3 separate regions of the Homo sapiens genome follow, and all the other regions are linked to region 3. Evidence: promoter capture Hi-C in 16 types of primary human blood cells and fetal thymus (Javierre and others, 2016). All regions are on one chromosome and are shown on one strand. Each heading gives the region's core, a stretch centred on a gene start or on the middle of the fragment in contact. The rest is flanking DNA. Distances are from core to core; before and after follow the strand shown.

What was found. The method cuts DNA at HindIII sites, captures the fragments that hold promoters and counts their contacts. A CHiCAGO score of 5 or more calls a contact.
Region 1: a fragment that was not itself captured here is called in contact with the fragment with the promoter of SIPA1L1 in region 3 in 1 of 17 cell types (neutrophils); the score reaches 5.3 in neutrophils.
Region 2: a contact is called between a fragment that was not itself captured here and the fragment with the promoter of SIPA1L1 in region 3, in 3 of 17 cell types (endothelial precursors, fetal thymus and erythroblasts). The highest score is 6.5, in endothelial precursors.

Annotation. Positions count from the first base shown.
Region 1 is chr14:70,646,426-70,649,813 of GRCh38, forward strand. All of the region lies in intron 1 of TTC9 (tetratricopeptide repeat domain 9), which reads left to right. Among named protein-coding and RNA genes, the nearest start is that of TTC9, 6.2 kb to the left of the region's middle. The HindIII fragment of the contact is 2,739 bases long and covers 571-3,309 here.
Region 2 is chr14:71,853,688-71,856,817 of GRCh38, forward strand. No RefSeq gene overlaps it. Among named protein-coding and RNA genes, the nearest start is that of RGS6, 77 kb to the right of the region's middle. RefSeq lists an enhancer at 2,575-2,644. The HindIII fragment of the contact is 996 bases long and covers 953-1,948 here.
Region 3 is chr14:71,319,200-71,322,314 of GRCh38, forward strand. SIPA1L1 (signal induced proliferation associated 1 like 1) reads left to right here and starts at 1,277. Exons shown (of 24, transcript NM_001386936.1): 1 at 1,277-1,304; 2 at 1,923-1,982. SIPA1L1-AS1 (SIPA1L1 antisense RNA 1) reads right to left here and starts at 2,649. Exons shown (of 4, transcript NR_184180.1): 1 at 2,475-2,649. RefSeq lists an enhancer at 756-915 and a silencer at 1,176-2,195. The HindIII fragment of the contact is 21,627 bases long and covers 1-3,115 here.

The DNA.
Region 1 (3,388 bases), core at 690-3,189, 670 kb before region 3:
GAACCCTTTGAAGGGCAGAGTCTTTTGCCCTACATCTGTTCCTGTGGGGCTGTGGTGGCCCTAGCAGAAGTGTGATCAAAGGGATACAACACACAATAACTTTGTTGGTATTTTCAAATGATGTTCAAGGCTCGAATGCCAGCAGTAGAGATGGAAATCAACAAACCATGGCATTGGACCTGAAGGCTAGGAGCTTGTGCCTCTGTCCCTGGGATACCTTGTGACCTTGGATAAGCCCCTGCCATTTTACTTTACCTCCATTTTCCCATCTACTCAGAGCTATGTTTAGGAGATTTTTGTTGATCTTACCAAAGGGGCAGCTAATATCCATTGATCCCAATTGAAGCCTTGGGATAGGGATGTGGCAAGGCCTAGAAGGAAGTCACACTGGGAAATGCCTGGGATGGTGCTGGTTTGAAACAAGCTTTGCTTTTCAGTGCTTGTGGACACGTCTTAAAGCCATGGGATCAGAGCCAGCCACATAATTTGCAGGGCCCAGCATGAAATGAAATGTAGGACTCTTTGTTGAAAAGGCAGGGAGGAAGTGTCGCTAAAGATCCTGAAAGATAAAGCTTTTCTCTTTCTTTTGTTCTCTCTTTCTCTTGACTTGACATGGTGTTTTGCATTTGCTATTTGATGTCATTGCAAATAAAAAATTTTAAAATTTAATTATTAGCATAGATTTTACTATTCTTTATGATGTGTGGTGCCAGTTTTAAATGAACTTATAGGAACACTTTACTTATATGAGGAATTATAAAAATTATACAATTTATACTTCTGTAGCTCATACATGCATATGTATTTATTCTTACTAGAACAGTGGAAATGCTGCACCAAATAAACTAAACTATTTTTATTTCACTTTTTTATATGTGTACTTTATATGCATACTTCATATGTGCACTTTCCACCAGGCTTTCAGATGAGCCAGGAAAGGAAAAGGGAATACACGTGACCCTACCCTTTCCTTCTGTGTCATCATTTTCAGCATGAGTGGTTGGCTAATATGGGAAAGCAACATAGGTAGGAAAGGATATGATAGGGTTCCTAGATTATTTGTGTTTCTGAGAACATTTTTTTTTGTCCATGTTTGAAGCCATTTCTAGTTTGAATGGAAAGAATGGCCCTTTGGGACTGGCAGCATATTCATTTAGTTATGGGCATAATTAAGTCTTGATGAACTCTCACGCATCATGGGGCTCCTAGAATTCTTTGCTCCTGGGGCATTGTGAATGCTATATGCAAATGGGGCAGCAGAGAGTGGTATTGTGCCCATCTCCTCTGTCCCTGCTCATGCTGTGTTGTCCCATCAGACTTCACTTAAACAAAACACAAGTTTAAAGATAAAGTGACTAAGAATTTCAAGAAGGCAATAGCAGAGTATTAAATGAAGTACAGGTTCCTTCTGAGTGTGGGGCTCTATGCAACAGCACAAGTTGCCCACCCTTGAAGCCAGCCCTCAATGGGACACCAGAAGATGGCTGGATGGATACATCTGAGGTGGACAAAATTGGATACAGACTCTAAGGCAGAGTCTAAGAACAAAGGGTATTCAACAGATGTTGGTGTAAAGATGGATGAGTTACAAATTTAAAAACTCAGTGGTGAAAAGGAGGTCAGGGGCTAGAGACAAGCAGTAACCTTGCAATCAGAGGATGAATTCCTAGGGTAAGGATTGGTCAAAAGAAGGGAAAAGAATATAGGCCTCATGTCAAGATGCTCAGCCAAGATCTTGCCATCCCGATGGGAGAGCTTGACTGGCTAAGCTGTTGTTGACCTGGGGCTGTTCCTTAGGTAGCACCTTGACCAATAAATCTTAAGGGTCAAGTAAATGGGGCTTGTAATACCTTCTTCCAAGGAAGAAAGTGAGAATTGAAACTTGCAGAATGCTTTCAAGGAAGGTACTGGGAAGAACATTACAAATTTAGACACTGGGCTGAGTTCCTAAAGTGGATTTGGAAGCTCCTTAGTCCACCTCCAAGGGAAATAAGTCAGGTGGCTTTTAGCCAGGAACTCTTTAGGACATCTTGAAATCAGAGTCCCTACAGCCAAAATACATGGGAGTGCCCCCTCCAAGGCAAGGAAATTCATCTGCAAAGCAGACAGGAAGGCCAAGATGTGGAGCAGCCAAAAGCAGCTCCCAGAGCTTTCACTGGTTGTGGGTGACCTCCAGATTCACTATAAGGAAATCCTCTCCTCACAGCTGTTCTCTTTCACCACCAGACTGTGCCTACTCCAAACAGCTAGGATGAAAACTGAATGTTTCAATCAACCAACTAGAGATTTCCTAAGCCCCTTTGGGAAGGCAGATGTCCATATTTGGAACAAAATTTTCCGTTTCACCCAGATGATTAGTGTGGCCCAGACACGGAGCAGCAACTCTAAGGTCTAGCTCGGACAATGGTACCAGACTTAAAAAAAACAAAGATAATGCTGCAGGGATTAAAGGAGTTTAGCCTAACTGTGGTATTTATATGGCCTTGGAATTATTTATTACCACTGTAAAGCTCACTATCTTATACAGACGTACAATGTCATATCCCCAGCAAAAGTGTGAAGTGGTACTAACAAGCTCAAGATTTCTGTAAAATCAGAATTTTGATTTTGGATTTGGATATGACCCCAAACCCTATATAGGTACATGGATTCACCTGTCAATACTACCAGCTTGTCATCCCACATGAGCTAGGCATTTCCAATCATAGGGATATTCACCACCATCTGAAGCAAACTTTTTGACAACCACCACCACCAAAACAACTATAATAATAATGGTATCAGTAATGACAGAAAGGATTACCATGATGAGGCCAGCACATAGTAGATGTTCCACAAATGTGTTTGAAATGAATGAAAATGCTTTTCCCAGCATCTGTCTCTTGTTAGGGATCCAATAAATTCAATCATTCCATTAACGTTTATTGAGCACTTATTATACACCAGACTCCAGGCTTGGGGGCTGGGTATATAGCAGTTAATATGAAGGACAAGATCCCCGCCTTACATGAACTTATGTATATATAATTTCATTTGATCTGTACAACTCTGTGAGACAGAAAAGTCAACCTTGGAACAGTTAACATCACTTGCCCATGGTCACATAGTGGTATATGGCAAACTGGGATCTCTCAACCACTGGGTCTGTAATTCCAAAGCCTGCAGTTTTAGCCATTCACCCTACCACCTCCATCTTTAGGGGTTTCTTCCTTAGATAATAAAACTTGTCTCACTGAAATTTCTTTTAATCCATCAATATTCTACTCTTTGAAGCAACACAGAGTATATATCATCTCTGTAGCAAAGACAAGCTTTGACATTTTTAGGGTAACTCTCTTGCCCATCTTCCAGTCTTTCCTTCTGGCAGTTAGACATCCTTTTACTGTGA
Region 2 (3,130 bases), core at 201-2,700, 530 kb after region 3:
CAATTTAGAAGTCCTTGACAGGAGGTCACTCTGAGCCCAGTGGATCTACGTGCATTTCCTTTTATTGGAAAGAGCGGAAGAGCAGTGGCTTCAAGGAAGTTTTACTCCATTTCTTTTTTCTTTCTTTTTTTTTTTTTTTTTTTGAGACTGAGTCTTGCTCTGTCACCAGGCTGGAGTGCAGTGGTGCTATCTTGACTCACTGTAACCTCTGCCTCCCGGGTTCAACCAATTTTCCTGCCTCAGCCTCCCGAGTAGCTGGGACTACAAGCATGCGCCACCACGCCCAGCTAATTTTTTTTGTATTTTTAGTAGAGACGGGGTATCACCATGTAGACCAGGATGGTCTGAATCTCTTGACCTCATGATCCACCAGCCTCGGCTTCCCAAAGTGCTAGGATTACAGGCGTGAGCCATTTCTTAAAGCAGATGTGTCTGAGCTGGGGGATGAGGGTCTCTCATCCCAGCCCAGACCCTCATCCAGGACCCCCGCTTCCCCCGTACTAAAGGCGCAGCTAGGACTGCAGCTTGCTGAACAGTGTACTGCAATGGACCCGAGAAGAATGCGCACCTTTGTGCTCCTGGTTTGGAATCAAGTATATGCAGTAGTGGCCTTCGATGGTGAGGATTACAGATTTTTTTCATGAGGAACACATATTATATCTCTGAAAGAATCAGTAATAAGGAAATTAGGACAATAAGGAGCAGATCATTTTGGACCCACTATTTACCAGCTCTGTAGCCTTGAGAAAGTTACGAGGTCTCTTGAGGTCTCATTTCATCATCTGTAAAATTATTTAACCTACTCGATTGGGTTGCTGTGACAAATTTAATGAGATAACATGTATAGTCTTGATCTCATCGCAAGCTATAAGAAGTGATACACAAATGTCAGTTGCATTTTTCCTGAGCTGGACTTCCTAGTATTCTCTCCTATTTCATAGGTGGCTTTTTAAGCTTATCTTACCTCTGAGCTTCACATTTGTTTGGTGCTGAATTAGAATTTCCATGTGGTGGTCCCTGAATTTTACTGCTCCCCCAGCACCCTGTCTTTTTCTCTCATGCTGAAAGTAGCCTTTTAACATTTGCCTTTTAACCTGGGTCTTCCTTCTTTTTGCCTGGAATGGTTGTTTTTTTGTTTGTTTGTTTTTGAGATGGAGTCCCACTGCAAACTCTGCCTCCCGAGTTCAAGTGATTTTCCCTCCTCAGACTCCTGAGTAGTTGGGATTACAGACGCCCACCACCAGGCCCAGCTAATTTTTGAATTTTTAGTAGAGATAGGATTTCACCATGTTGACCAGGCTGATCTTGAACTCCTGATCTCAAGTGATCTGCCCGCCTTGGTCTCCCAAAGTGCTGAGACTACAGGCATGAGCCACTACACCCAGCCTTCTGCCTGGGATGTGGATGTGATTCCCAGAAGTGCAGCTGCCATCTTGCCACCATGAGGTAACCTAAGGGTGTCAGAGCAGAAGGATAAAAGGAGCTTACGTCCTTCATGGCAGTGTGGGACTATACTAGAGCTTGACTACTCACCAAATCTCACCTTGAAAGAACACACACTTTAAAATTTAAAACTCCAATTGTCTCTAAAATAAGAAAGAAAGAAAGAAAATAGGTTCAGGTGAGGAAGTATGGCAGAATGTTGATAATGATGAATCTGGGGAATGGACATATTGGTTCACTATACTTTTCTCTTTAATTCTGTGTGTGTGTGTTTGAAATTTTTCATGACAAAAATTTAAAAGAAAATTGAACTTCACCAAATTTCTTATCTTGATTATTATGTGAAGCTCCAGGTTCTAATCAAGCTCTTCCAAGGGCAGAGGACAATGATTTTCCTGTTGGCCAACTTTTCATTGGCTGCATCCCAATACCCCAGGCTTGCCTCAATATTCCTGCTGTGCTGCTGCCCCCTGCTGGCCTCTGCCATTTTGTGTGCCTGAAGATAAGCTTCCCCCCATGTCAGAGGGCTGTGAGCTCCCTCCACTGAAGAAGGTTTTTAAAGATTAGACTCTTGATTTTAGATGATGTTTAATAAATGAATGTCCCTTCTATTCCCAAATTCTTAATGCCTGATTTTTAAAAAGCATGATGGGCATGTGGGGAGATACAAGAGACACAGAAGCCTCTGCCTTTGCGGTTCATTTTGTAGGAATGAGGATTCATAAAATGTACCACCCCCCATTCTGTCTCAACTGATGCCCCATCCCTCCTTCCATTTTCATCCTTCCAATTTCTTCATTCTCTGTTTGATGGACATGTTATAGGAAATATGTTTCAGAAATACCATCTTTTTAGTTTTTATTTAATCTTAGATTTCCTGAGTGTGATGCTGGAGAAATATTTGTAAACAAAATACCTACTTCAGATGGACCAGAAGAGAGAAAGGACTGGTACAGGTTGCTGAAGACAACCTTGACTGTGTTTTTAAGGTGTGCCCACGTCTGCTAACCCCAGGGAACTATTGAACACAACATATTTGACTGGTTTGCTGATTTCCAGAACAGCCAATAGTAGTGTAACTGAGCAGAGAAACAATGCTGTTAGAAGGGGCACGGTGAGAGTGAGATCGGCCCTTCGGTTTGCGTGGGAGCTGGGTGAAGCTGGTGACTGCTGGCTTTCCCCCGCTTCCCTGACAACCTGCATGACTCAGCAGAGGCAGCCATAATCCTGCTAGGTACACTACTCTATTGACCTTGCAACATCACCCCCATACCCCACAGCAGCCACAGCAAGACCTGCCCAAGGAGAGTCTGATCTCAGACATGCTTAGCCCTGCCCCGACCTGATGGGCCTTTCCTATGCACCCTGGTAGCTGAAGACAAAGGGCATATACTCTTGGGAGTTTTAAGGCCCCGCCCACTGCCATTTTCTCTCAATACTACCACAGCTGATGCTTTCTGGAAAGCACCACCTCCTGGCAGTAGGCCAACCAGCACAAAAATAGAACATTAAACCACCAAAGCTGACAACCTCGTAGAGTCCATTTCACCCCCTGCCACCTCCATGGGAACAGGTACTGGTATCCACACTGAGAGACCCATAGATGATTCACATCACAGGACTATGTGCAGACAATCCCCAGTACCAGCCCAGAGCCGGGTAGACTTGCTAAGTGGCTAGACCCAGA
Region 3 (3,115 bases), core at 27-2,526:
CAGGATTTAAACTTGCAAGTGACTTACAAGTTTTGACTGCCTAGTCCTCATATGCTTAGGTTATGCTTTAGGTTTCTAGTTCTGTGGGACTGAGTTAAATAATGGTTTCCCCATGTTCATGGATAGGAATTTTAAAAATTGAGATATAATCCACATACAATGGTATCTATTTTTACTCATTCATTTTGAAATCTAAAGTTTAACTTCTATTCATAATATCCATTTTACTTAGGCAGTGAGTATATAATAACCCTCACCTCAGAAAAGTTTCTACAGTTAAAAGACACGGGCTGAGGAGAGTTCATCTTCATCCTTACTAGCATTTTGGAGTACGTATAAAGGCGTCTGCGGATGCCTAATGATTAAAAAAAAAGTTCCCCTCACCATGGTGAATAGGGTTTTTACGAGAAAAATATGGAGAAAGCAGAGATTATTACCATTGAAAAAGACAAGGTGTTAACAGAAATGGGAGGGTAGCTTGATAGAGTCCAAACTTGACTGAACTCTCTAGGTTAGGGCCAAAGGCAAGTACTGAGGACAGGCATGGACTGTTGCGTTCAACTTGTCAAAAAAGTGGCCAATATGTAGTATGGACCAAGCCTATAGAGGCGCTGAGAATACAGAGATGAATGAGCCAGTTCCTGAAGGAGCCCAGTCTGCGTGTGTTTGCGAGTTGAGAAGAGGAGGAGGGAGGCAGCATGGGGAGTGTGGGGATGGAGGAATTAGATTGAAAGAGAAGGCCGAAAAACTGAATATATAGTAGAAATTTGGGGTGCAGATATGTGCTGCCTAGAAAGGCAGAAACCTGTCCCAGAACCTCTTAATACATTAGTCTCATTTGCCAAATTTGGCCAGATATCATGACTGTGGTCCTCTCGAGATGCCCTCTTGAATCGGCTTAAAAATTATCCTTCCGCAACCACCCCTAGCTTTCCCCACCGCCAGTGCGCCGGGCAGGTTGAAAACTGCACCCACGTTTGCAGCCTCTGCTCTCCGCAGGAGACAGGAATCCAGGGCTTTGCCGTCGTCATAGCAACCAGAAGTTCCGCGGTCCCCTACCCTCCCGCGACTTTTTCCACTTCCTCCGCCTGCAGGGCCCAGCCGCCGCTTCTCTCGCGAGACTTGTGCGCCGCGCTAAGCCGCTCCGTGGTGATCTCACCCGAGACTTGGGGGAGAGGGAGGAGTGAAGGAGGGGAAGGAATGGGGCGGGAGGCGGGGCGGGGAGGGGAAGGGCGAGTGAGGCGCCGCCACTGCCGGCAACTTTGTGAGCGAGTTCAGTGCGTGCGTGAGCGAGTGAGCGAAAAGTCAGTGCAGCGCCGAGTCCCCGGCTGGAGGGTCCCCGGGGAGGGCCAGGTCTGGGCCCCAGAGGCCGCCCCCGCAGCCACTCCATTCCCTCCCGCCTCTGTGGCTCCCTCCCCATTTCCTCCCCCACCGGTCGTTGGGGCCTTCCCGCCCCCGTCCGCACTTACCTGTCCCCTCCCCCATGCGGTACGCACCTCCTCATCCCCCCCCCGGCAACCTCGCGCCCACCTTGGACCTTCGGAGCCCGGACCCCCGCACTTGCTTCCCGTACTGGCCGCCCCCTCAGTTCTTTCTGCTGGCGGGCGGGATGGGGGCGCTGAGCCTCGGGGACGGCGCGAGCGGGGGCCCGGGCGCCTAGACAATAGTTGATGCCCAAGGACGGGGCCACCTCCGCCTTCCCCTCCTCCGGGAGCTCGGCCCCCGCCGGCCCCCCGCCAGCCTGTATTCCGGGTCCCCCTCGGAGCCAGCCTCGGGAATTGGGCTGATTCCACCCCCGCCTCCCTCGGGCCCCCCTCCGCTCCGCGCTCGGCGCCCGCCTCGGGCCGGCCTCGCCGCTCTCCGCAGAGGAGGCGGCGAGTGAGCGCGCGCCGGCCGTCTACACGGTTTCTCTTTCTCCCCAGGGAGAGCGCGCGGCGGACGCGCCCGGGACGCGCGGCGGCACCGGGAGGCCGGGCCGAGCGGTAAGTGGTCCCCGCGCCCGGGTCCTGGGGGGAGCGGGGGTGCAGGACGGCTGACAGCCCCCTGCCCTGTTTCTGGCCGGGGTTGGGGTCCAGGGCCCGGAGCAGGACCCCAGGAGGCCGGTTAAAGTTTGATTTTCGATTTGGTGGCTTGCTGGTAGCTTAGCCCGGCGGGGGCGAGTCCGGCTTCACCGCGCCCGGCGCGCGCGCACGCACCCCAGAACCCGAATCTGCACAACTACTGGGCAGGCGTCTCTGCGGGAGGCCAGGAGACCCGCGTCCCGGTCCGGGCGGTTGCGTCCACCCCGCTGAGCTGGTCGCCACCTGGCGACCCTTCCCCTCCAGTCACCTGGGTGAGCGCTTTGCAGCCTGAGCTGGAGTAGGCAGGCCGAGTTGGTTGAGTTGTGGGAAATGGAGACGAACAGCTCGGTGCCCGAGGGTGGTTAATTTCCCCTTTGGGGGTCTTGGGGACATGAAATTTTGGGATGCTCTAACCTGCTTTCCGGGGAGCGAGTAAACCGCGAAAGGGCTGGGAAGGCGTGAGGGTGCCGCAAAAAGAACTTTTCCTCCTTCGCCCCATCTGTTACCAGCTTCTCTCCTGACCTTAAAGGAAATTTCCGAGGCTCTTAAATCGCTCCACGGCATTTCTAGGTGGACCAGTAATCGTGTTGGGCAGGTTGAAATTTCATCGCGGTTTGGAGAACAGAGAGACATGGGAAATGGCTCACTTCCAAGGAAGATGTTTAGCTAAATTGTTGGCATTCGTTTTCTAAGAGAAGCATTTGGGGATTGATGGCTCCTAGACTACGATTACCTTATAGATTTTATTTTTCCTGACGGGTAGTTTAGAGGCAGCATTCGCTGAAATGCATACTACCTGTGAAACGATCATGTTTCTAAACTGGAGCCAGCGATGTGATGCAAATTTCAGAATAAAGGTGTCGACTTTCATCAGGTTCCAGGTCTATCTGGATGGACTGGGATTGGCGTTTCCTCTATAAAGCAAACCTTTCATGTTGAAACTCTGAGTCAGACTCTTAAAGCCATTGTCTTTATGCTGGTACTCTGTGGGAGTTAAGTGTCAACTTTCTCCTGTTTTCTCCTATGGAGTATCCGTCCAAGGCAAAGATTCTCTG